2 separate regions of the Homo sapiens genome follow, and region 1 is linked to region 2. The links are contacts of gene promoters, found by promoter capture Hi-C in human tissues and cell types (Jung and others, 2019). All regions are on one chromosome and are shown on one strand. The core of a region is centred on a gene start or on the middle of the fragment in contact, and the rest is flanking DNA. Distances in the headings are between cores, read along the strand shown. Region 1 overlaps FADS3 (fatty acid desaturase 3). Region 2 holds the start of SCGB1D1 (secretoglobin family 1D member 1).

Region 1 (3,959 bases), core at 1,182-3,681, 310 kb after region 2:
AGAAGCAGCTTCTCCACTCTCTTCCCTGACACCTGTAGGCCCCTCCTGCAGGCACTTACCTCTAAGTGGACTCTCAGGAGGAGGCTCATCAGGGCTGCAGGGCTCAGAAAGAGCTGGGCTGTGGAGCTCTTGCCAACCGCCAGGCCCCTTCTAAGTGCTTTAGCGCCACCGACTGCATCCTCCCAGCAGCCTTGTGAGATGGGGATTTGTGGTTCCCAGTTTACTGATGAGAAATACTGATGAGAGATGGGTGTGGTCTTGTCTGGGGCTCCCTGGCTCCTGGATAGCAGCTCAGGTTCCATCCTGGGCAGGCTGGCTCTGGGACACCCCCCCGACCAGCTGCTGTGTGGGATTCACGGTGGGGCTTGGGCAGGGCGTGGGATCTTGGGGCCAACTGAGCCACTCTAGGCTTCCAGGGACCAAGGCCAGGCTGAGCTGTCTCTGTATCCTGAGAGAGCATGAACATCACAGAAGATGGGCCCGGGTTCGAATCCCAGCTCTGCCACTACTAACTGGGACCTGGGCAGGTGTCCCTTCCCGCTGAGCCTTCATTTCCTCACCAGCAAAATGGTTCGTGCCCCTGCTTTGGGGGCTGTGGAGGGTTGGCTCTTGTCTACTTGTTCATACCTGCTGTTGAGCAGCTGCTCTGTGCCGGCCTCTGAGGATGCCACTGTGAACAGAGCCTGTCGCTACCTCCAGGAGCTTGTGTTTAGGGGTGCCGTTTTGATTCCAGCACTTTCACCCAGCTCTGCTCCGGTACCCGATGAGAGACGTCGAGTGCCGCTTTCCACTCGCTTGGGTGCGTGTGGGGGTTGGGGGGACAGGGCTTTGTGCACGTACCCCTGGGTGGATGTTCCTGGGTGCACTTAGGGTGTGTGAGGGTGGGACCTCCCACAGTTCCCTGAGGCTCCACTGATGAGGTCCAAGAACCGCCTTCCTGCCCCCCAGCCCAGGCTCCCAGCAGCTGGGCCCTTGGCTTCTTGAGATAGTGACTGGCCTCACGGCAAGGACCCCCGCACACCACCTAGGAGAACTGCTGCTTCCCCTCTGTTCCAGGAGTGGCGACAAGCACAGTTTTTCGCTTTTGTTTTTGTTTTCTTCACTTTAAGTTCCGGGAAACGTGCAGAATGTGCAGGTTTGTTACATAGGTATACATGTGCCATGGTGGTTTGCTGCACCCGTCAACCCCTCATCTAGGTTTTAAGCTCCATATACATTAGGCATTTGTCCTAATGCTCTCCCTCCCCTTGCCCCTCACCCGCCCAGTAAGCCCCGGTGTGTGATGTTCCCTTCCCTGTGTCCATGTGTTCTCATTGTTCAACTCTCACTTATGAGTGAGAAGAGACCTGGACTCTGATCTAACCTCGGTCAAATGGAACTGTGTGACCTTGAAGAAGTAGCTTAACCTCTCTGAGTCTTAGCTTCTGCCTGGCACCCCCATCCTTAAGGAGAGGCCCACAGAGGACCAGGTCACATGACCTCAGCCAGTTCCAGAGAAGGCTGTTTGCTTCCAGGTTTCGGCCTGAGTCCAGGCCCCTGCCCTACTCGCACTCCCTGATAGCATGAGAAGCACAGCCCCAGGGTGCCCACCCAGCTCTGAGAGCCCAGCCTGCTTCCCAGGGAACTGTCACAGCCCCACCTGTCCCTTCCCCAGCTGGAGCCCTGTCAATGGCTTTGGGGTTCTCTGACACAGCCCTGAGGGGGCTCACACTTCCCCTTATCATTGCAAGGGGTAGATCTGGCTTGAAGGCCCTGGGGCAGGCTTGGTTCTGTCCTCCCCTGTCAGTGCCTCGACAGGGCTGGCCTGGGTGAATCAGGACCAACGGGAAAGGAGGCGAGGAGACCAATCTGGACCCAAGATCCTCAGCTCAATAAGGTGGCCCCAGAACTGACATGGGGTGATAGAGGGAAGGGCTGGGAGGGAGGAGATTCTGGGGCCGCAGCCACAGCTTGCACGTTGCGCCGGGTGTGTCTGTGCGTGCCAGCTGCATCTTTGCGTACCATGTGTGCAAGGCTGTGTTTGGCTGAGTGTTCATGTGGGCCGTGATTGTGGGCATGTTTCTGAGTGTCTGAGTGATGCCTGCTGGTGTGGGCTGGTGGGTGTGTCTGCATGTGCGTGTGTGTCTGGGGAGTTTCAAAGGAGAAAGAGGGACTCACCATCACGCTGGCTCAGCCTTAAAAAGGTAGGACATCCTGACACGTGCTGCAACATGGATGGACCTTAAGGACATTGTGCTGAGTGAAACAAGCCAGAGGCAAAGGAACAAACATGTGATTTCTCCCAGATGAGGTTTCCGGAGGAGGCAGATCTGTATGGACAGAAGGTAGCATGGTGGTTGCCGGGGCAGGGGGAGGAGAGAATGGAGAATTAGTGTTTAATGGGGACAGAGTTTCAGTTGGGGAAGGTGAAAAGGTTCTGGAGCTGGATGATGGTGATGGTTGGACAACACTGTGCATGCACTTAATACCACTGAGCTGGACACCTAAAAATGCTTACAATGGTAAATTTCATGTATATTTTACTACAATTTTTAAAAAATTGGCTGGGCGTGGTGGCTTATGCCTGTAATCCCAACACTTTGGGAGGCCAAGGCGGGAGGATTGCTTGAGCTCAGGAGTTCAACACCAGCCTGGGCAATATGGTGAAACCCCGACTCTACGAAATATACAAAAATTAGCCTGGTGTGGTGGCTTGCACCTCTAATCCCACCTACTCAGTAGGCTAAGGCACAAGAATCTCTTGAACCTGGGAGGTGGAGGTTGCAGTAAGCCGAGATCATGCCACTGCAACCCAGTCTGGGCGACAGAGCAAGACTCTGTCTCAAAAAATAAAAGATAAATAAAAAAATTAGAGGCCAGGTGTGGCTCACACCTGTACTCTCAACACTTTGGGAGGCTGAGGTGGGAGGATCGCTTGAAGTCAGGCATTTAAGACATGCCTAGGCAACATAGTGAGACCTTGACTCTACAAAAAAATTCAAAAGTTAATGAGACATGGTGGCATGTGCCTGTAGTCCTAGCTGCTGGGGAGGCTGAGGTGGGAGGATCACTTACGACCAGGATTTCAAGGCTGCAGTGAGCTGTGATTGCATCACTGCACTCCAGCCTGGTGACAGAGTGAGGCCCTGTCTCAAAAAAATTTTTCAGTGTTTTTCTGGGCTGGGCGTGGTGGCTCATTCCTGTAATTCCAGCACTTTGGGAGGCTGAGGTGGGTGGATTGCTTGAGCCCAGGAGTTTAAGACCAGCTGGGCAACATGGCAAACCTCATCTCTACAAAAAATAAAAATAAAAAATTAGCTGGGCATGGTGGTGCACACCTGTACTAACAGCTACGAGAGAGGCTAAGGTGGGAGGATCACCTGAGCCCGGGAGGTTGAGGCTGCAGTGAGCCATGATTGCACCACTGCACTCTAGCCTGGGCGATACAGCAAGACCCTATCTCAAAAAAAAAAAAAAAAAAAAAAAAAAAAAACACCCAGTGGGGTCAGTAGAACCCCAAGAGTCTTCTTCCCTCCCAGCTCCCCTGTACACCAGCCCCAGCTCTGCAGGTAGCTGGGGGCCCAGACAGCTTCCTGGGGACCCCCAGCCTTCCCTCTGCCCTTTTTTCTACCAGTTTTGCTGCCCCTCCTTCAAGACTCATGTCCAGAGGGGGTGAGATCTGCACTTATACAGCCCCCTCCTCTGTAATGAGTGAGCCAAGTCAGCCCAGGTTATTCCAGAAGGGGCACCCTACCAGCCCCCCAGTCCCCAAGCTGCCCTGGGCCTATAAAAGCAGGCAAGGGGACCCCTAGTAGATCATGTAGGTGTTACCTCTTAGTGGGTGCTGGAGGGGCCTGAAGTGCTTTCTTCCCCCAGGGTGGTAGGAGAATGTCCTGGCAGTGACTTCAGGGCCCGCTGTCACTTCCGTTTTAAGACTCACCAGCTGGTAGGCTCATTAGCAAGAGGACAATAGGAGGCCC
Region 2 (3,713 bases), core at 1,003-3,502:
GACCTGAGAAGGAGGAACATGCAGGAGGCTGTGTGCAGCTGAGTTGAATTCTGCAGGTGAAATGGTAGCACCCACCCTGTGGTCCCAGGTGACCTTCTCAAGCGGTGACCAGTAAGGCAGGTGCCCCACCACCTGTGTCCCTCACAGAGCAGCAAGCAAGCTGACCTCACTTCACACTGTGCCGCTGACCAGAAGCCTGGACACATGAAAGAGACAGAAATTACCAATGTTTTTGTAATTAGCACTCTTTTCTCATAGGCCATCGTATCCACGCATTTCTTCACTTCCATCTTGGCTGCAACAGCTTCCAGAGGTGCCTTAAATTTGGCAAGTTGGAACTTGAACACAGGTTTTCCAGCTAATAAGAAGCCTGTGATTTCAGAACCAAGAGCTTGGCAGACCACTGCATTTGCTGGAGCAAAAGAATAAAAATATAATTTGTGTAAGGAAATCAGTGTTTCTCCCATGCCTCCCTGATGTCAGACCAGACAGGAACCCCAGGGTTTTAGGCTTCTATTCAATAACTATGCCAATGACAATGTCAGACCCAGGAGGTTGTGACTTCCTTGAGGTCACACAGCAAAGGGTAGAGCTAGAACTGGAGAACCAACTTCCTGATCACTCATTCAGTCTTTGTTTTTTTTTTAAAGCACACTCATTACTTTCCAAAGCTTCTCTGGATGGATGGCCAACGTTCTCTTTTCTAGATTTGAAAATAATCACTTTTCTATGCCAGTTAAGTGACACTTTATTAGTCTTGGACATTGGTGAAGAGGAGGCTTTGAGTAATCAAATTTTGAAGTGGAATGGTAGAGTCAGAATCCTATCAGAAATTAGAGAAATGAGTAAATCTGGAACAGAAGAAGTTAAAATTATTGAAATGTTGAAGGTGATGTTTTGAGAACAAGTTGTAGAATTTAGGCTTATGTGATTCAATACAGACAGAGCTAAAAGGTAAACAAATTAAAACAAAATAAAATAATGTGAATCAGTTTTAACACACATTAGAAGCTTATACAGGAAATTGTACTTGGCCCATATTCTGCAGCAGCATCTAGAATATTTGGAGAGGATGAGAGGAGGGAACTGAGGCTCATTCCTGCTCCCACTGGGAATTTTGGAAAGACCTGGAGTAATCATTTTGCTTGGTCTGGAATCTCCATTCACCTAAGTCTTTTGCAAACACCATGCATCCAGAAAGCGCCCCACCATGCTCAACATGACCCCTGACTACCCGACTTCAAACTGTGGGGAGAATTTGGAGAGGGTAGGATCGGGGTGTCACAGGGAAACAGGGAGAGGTTCAGAAAAGAAGAGGAAAGAGAAAAATCAGAGTCTGGATCGGTCCTGACAGGGGAAAGGAAAGTACCCAAATGAACTGGGGAAAAATCAGCCAGAATTAATTTTAGAAAAATAGAAGTTCTGAGGCTAACCATTGTAGTATTTCTACCACCATTACGGTAGGACCCCTAGAAGATATATTGAGTGCTGCTTATTCTAAGAATTCATTTGCAGGCTTCTTATTGAGAGAATCAGAAAGCACCATCTCTTCTTGGACTGAGAGTTCTCCAAGGATCCTTCGAGATGTAACATTTTATGAGTCTGAATTTACAATGTAAGAAGCTGTGAGCTCAATTGGCACCTAAAGGTCTGGGGACGAGAATGTCTGACAGTACAGTGATTGGCTTCACATCCACAGCTAGACCCTTGGCACAATAATCCCACTCCATTCCCATTGCCACTCCCGGAAGAAGCTCTAAGCACCAGAGATAGGAGGAGGCGCGGGGAGGGTGAGCATCTTGCCCACGGTGAAAGGGCTGAGAAGTGGCTGAGCCCAGAGTCACCCCAGACCTCACATTACATCATCTGACACAGATCCCATCCAAGAGTGAAGCTCAGGCAGAATTCCTAACGTTCGCCTGCATTGATTTTCTGCAAAACTTCCTAGGTACTGGGGATTTGATGAAATGAGGCCCGAGCTTTATGAGCAGTTCCTTCAACAAGCACAGGATAAGGTTTGGAATTTTGGTTTGTTCCAGACCCCAACCTTAACCTTAATAGGTGACCTCGTGCTCAGAGAAGGGTGTGTCCCAAGGGCTGGTGCTGGACTCATGACTGATGTACTCACCCCGGTAGCAGCAAAGGGCCAGCGTGAGCAGCAGGAGACACACCGACAGCCTCATGGTGGCTTATTCTGCTGTGAGCTCGGCTTTAACCAATGATGAGTGATTTAGACTCAGCCCCGGGAGCCTGTGGAGCCGTGGAGCCCAGGGCTATTTGTACCTAGGGAGCCTGGCTGGTCCTGCCCACATGGGCATCTGGCAGGTGATGAGGCCTGGCTTCCAGCCCTCCCTTCCTAGCCAGGGCTGCTGCCATCCATCAGTGTCACATCCCCACACCTCCCTGCATCCTGAGTGGGGCGGAGCACGGGAGGGCAGCCCTGCAGAAACTCTGCTCTGTGCTCCAGGTGAGTGTCCAGGTGCCTCTGGCAATGTTCCCTGGAACCTCAGTTTGCTTTTGGGCTTTTGAGGATTATCTCTCTGTTCTTTATGTCAGTGCAAGGGCAAATGTGAGTTCTCATTTCAGGAGGACAGAAACCGGGGGTGCAGGAAGCTAGGGGCTGTGGTTTGGTTATAGGAGAGCAGGCACAGAAGAGACCCCACTTTGACCTCCACTGCATGTCTGACAATCAGCCACACGTGTTTCAGCTGCACATAGATCAAGTCTGAACCAGACCTATCCTCCCACTCAGCCCCTTCCATCCCCACCATCTTCACCACATAGGTACCTAAAACATAGCTGCATACACCCCACCTTTGGAGGATTTCCTTGGGGAAAACAACCACTCCCCCTGTCCTCTACTCTGTCTCACTCCAAGATCTGTGTCTTTATTTATGGGTGGAGTTGTCAACATAGCACAGGTTCAAATTTTCTGTCTACTAAAAGCAAGCCTCCAGTGACCTCTAGCCACCCATATCTCCTCATAGGGCTGATGGGATGATTAAATTGCCCAACTTTTTTTACCCAAGGAGCTGCTGGGGTGTCTGGAGGCAAACAGGCATCAGAAATACTGGTCTTCGCTTCTAGGCAGGGACGATAATGGAAAGGAAGAGATGGATGAACAGGGTGGGTGGTCACTTCCCTCTAACCTCTGGGCTCAAGTTTTCCACTTCTAACCCAGCTCTGCTGCCTGGGTCATCTCATTGTTGATGGAAAGCGAAGGCCATCCCCAGCAAAAGCAATAGACACCCTTCTGCCCTTCCACTGCAGTGCCATCATTTGGTGAGTAGGAAATCACCAGAAATTTGGCTCTTAAGTGAACACACATTTGAGAACAGTCACAGCCCAGGCCAGAGCTTTCCATTCTCTGCTCTGCAATCAAATCACTTGGGGCTCTTAAACTATACTGACTCCCCGCAGGCTGCTTCCCTTTCTGGGGATTTTGATTCAGTAGTTCTAGGGCGAGGTCCTCTTCTGTTTAAACTGCTCTGGTGGGTCTGATGGGCAGCAGTACTGAGAACCACCCAGAAAGACCTTTATGAAGGAAGCGGACCTTATGGTCTGTGTCATCAGAGACACCTTGGCAGGTCTGGCTGAGTCCCAGCTGAGGGCGACAATGCCTCTCACTTCCATCACCCAAAATGGTGGGGAAGCCCCTGATGCCACCTCTGCCTCCAACCCTAAGGAGTGGAAGGTCCAGTGGCAAAGCCCAT

Evidence for each region. The method cuts DNA at HindIII sites, captures the fragments that hold promoters and counts their contacts. A contact is called where the count stands out against the background at its distance.
Region 1: a contact is called between a fragment that was not itself captured here and the fragment with the promoter of SCGB1D1 in region 2, in 1 of the 25 tissues and cell types used here (lymphoblastoid cells).

The regions. Positions count from the first base shown.
Region 1 is chr11:61,881,612-61,885,570 of GRCh38, reverse strand. All of the region lies in intron 1 of FADS3 (fatty acid desaturase 3), which reads left to right. Among named protein-coding and RNA genes, the nearest start is that of MIR6746, 5.3 kb to the right of the region's middle. The HindIII fragment of the contact is 4,427 bases long and covers 218-3,959 here.
Region 2 is chr11:62,188,755-62,192,467 of GRCh38, reverse strand. SCGB1D1 (secretoglobin family 1D member 1) reads right to left here and starts at 2,252. Exons shown (of 3, transcript NM_006552.2): 1 at 2,129-2,252; 2 at 225-412. The coding sequence starts at 2,183. RefSeq lists an enhancer at 1-198. The HindIII fragment of the contact is 12,490 bases long and covers 842-3,713 here.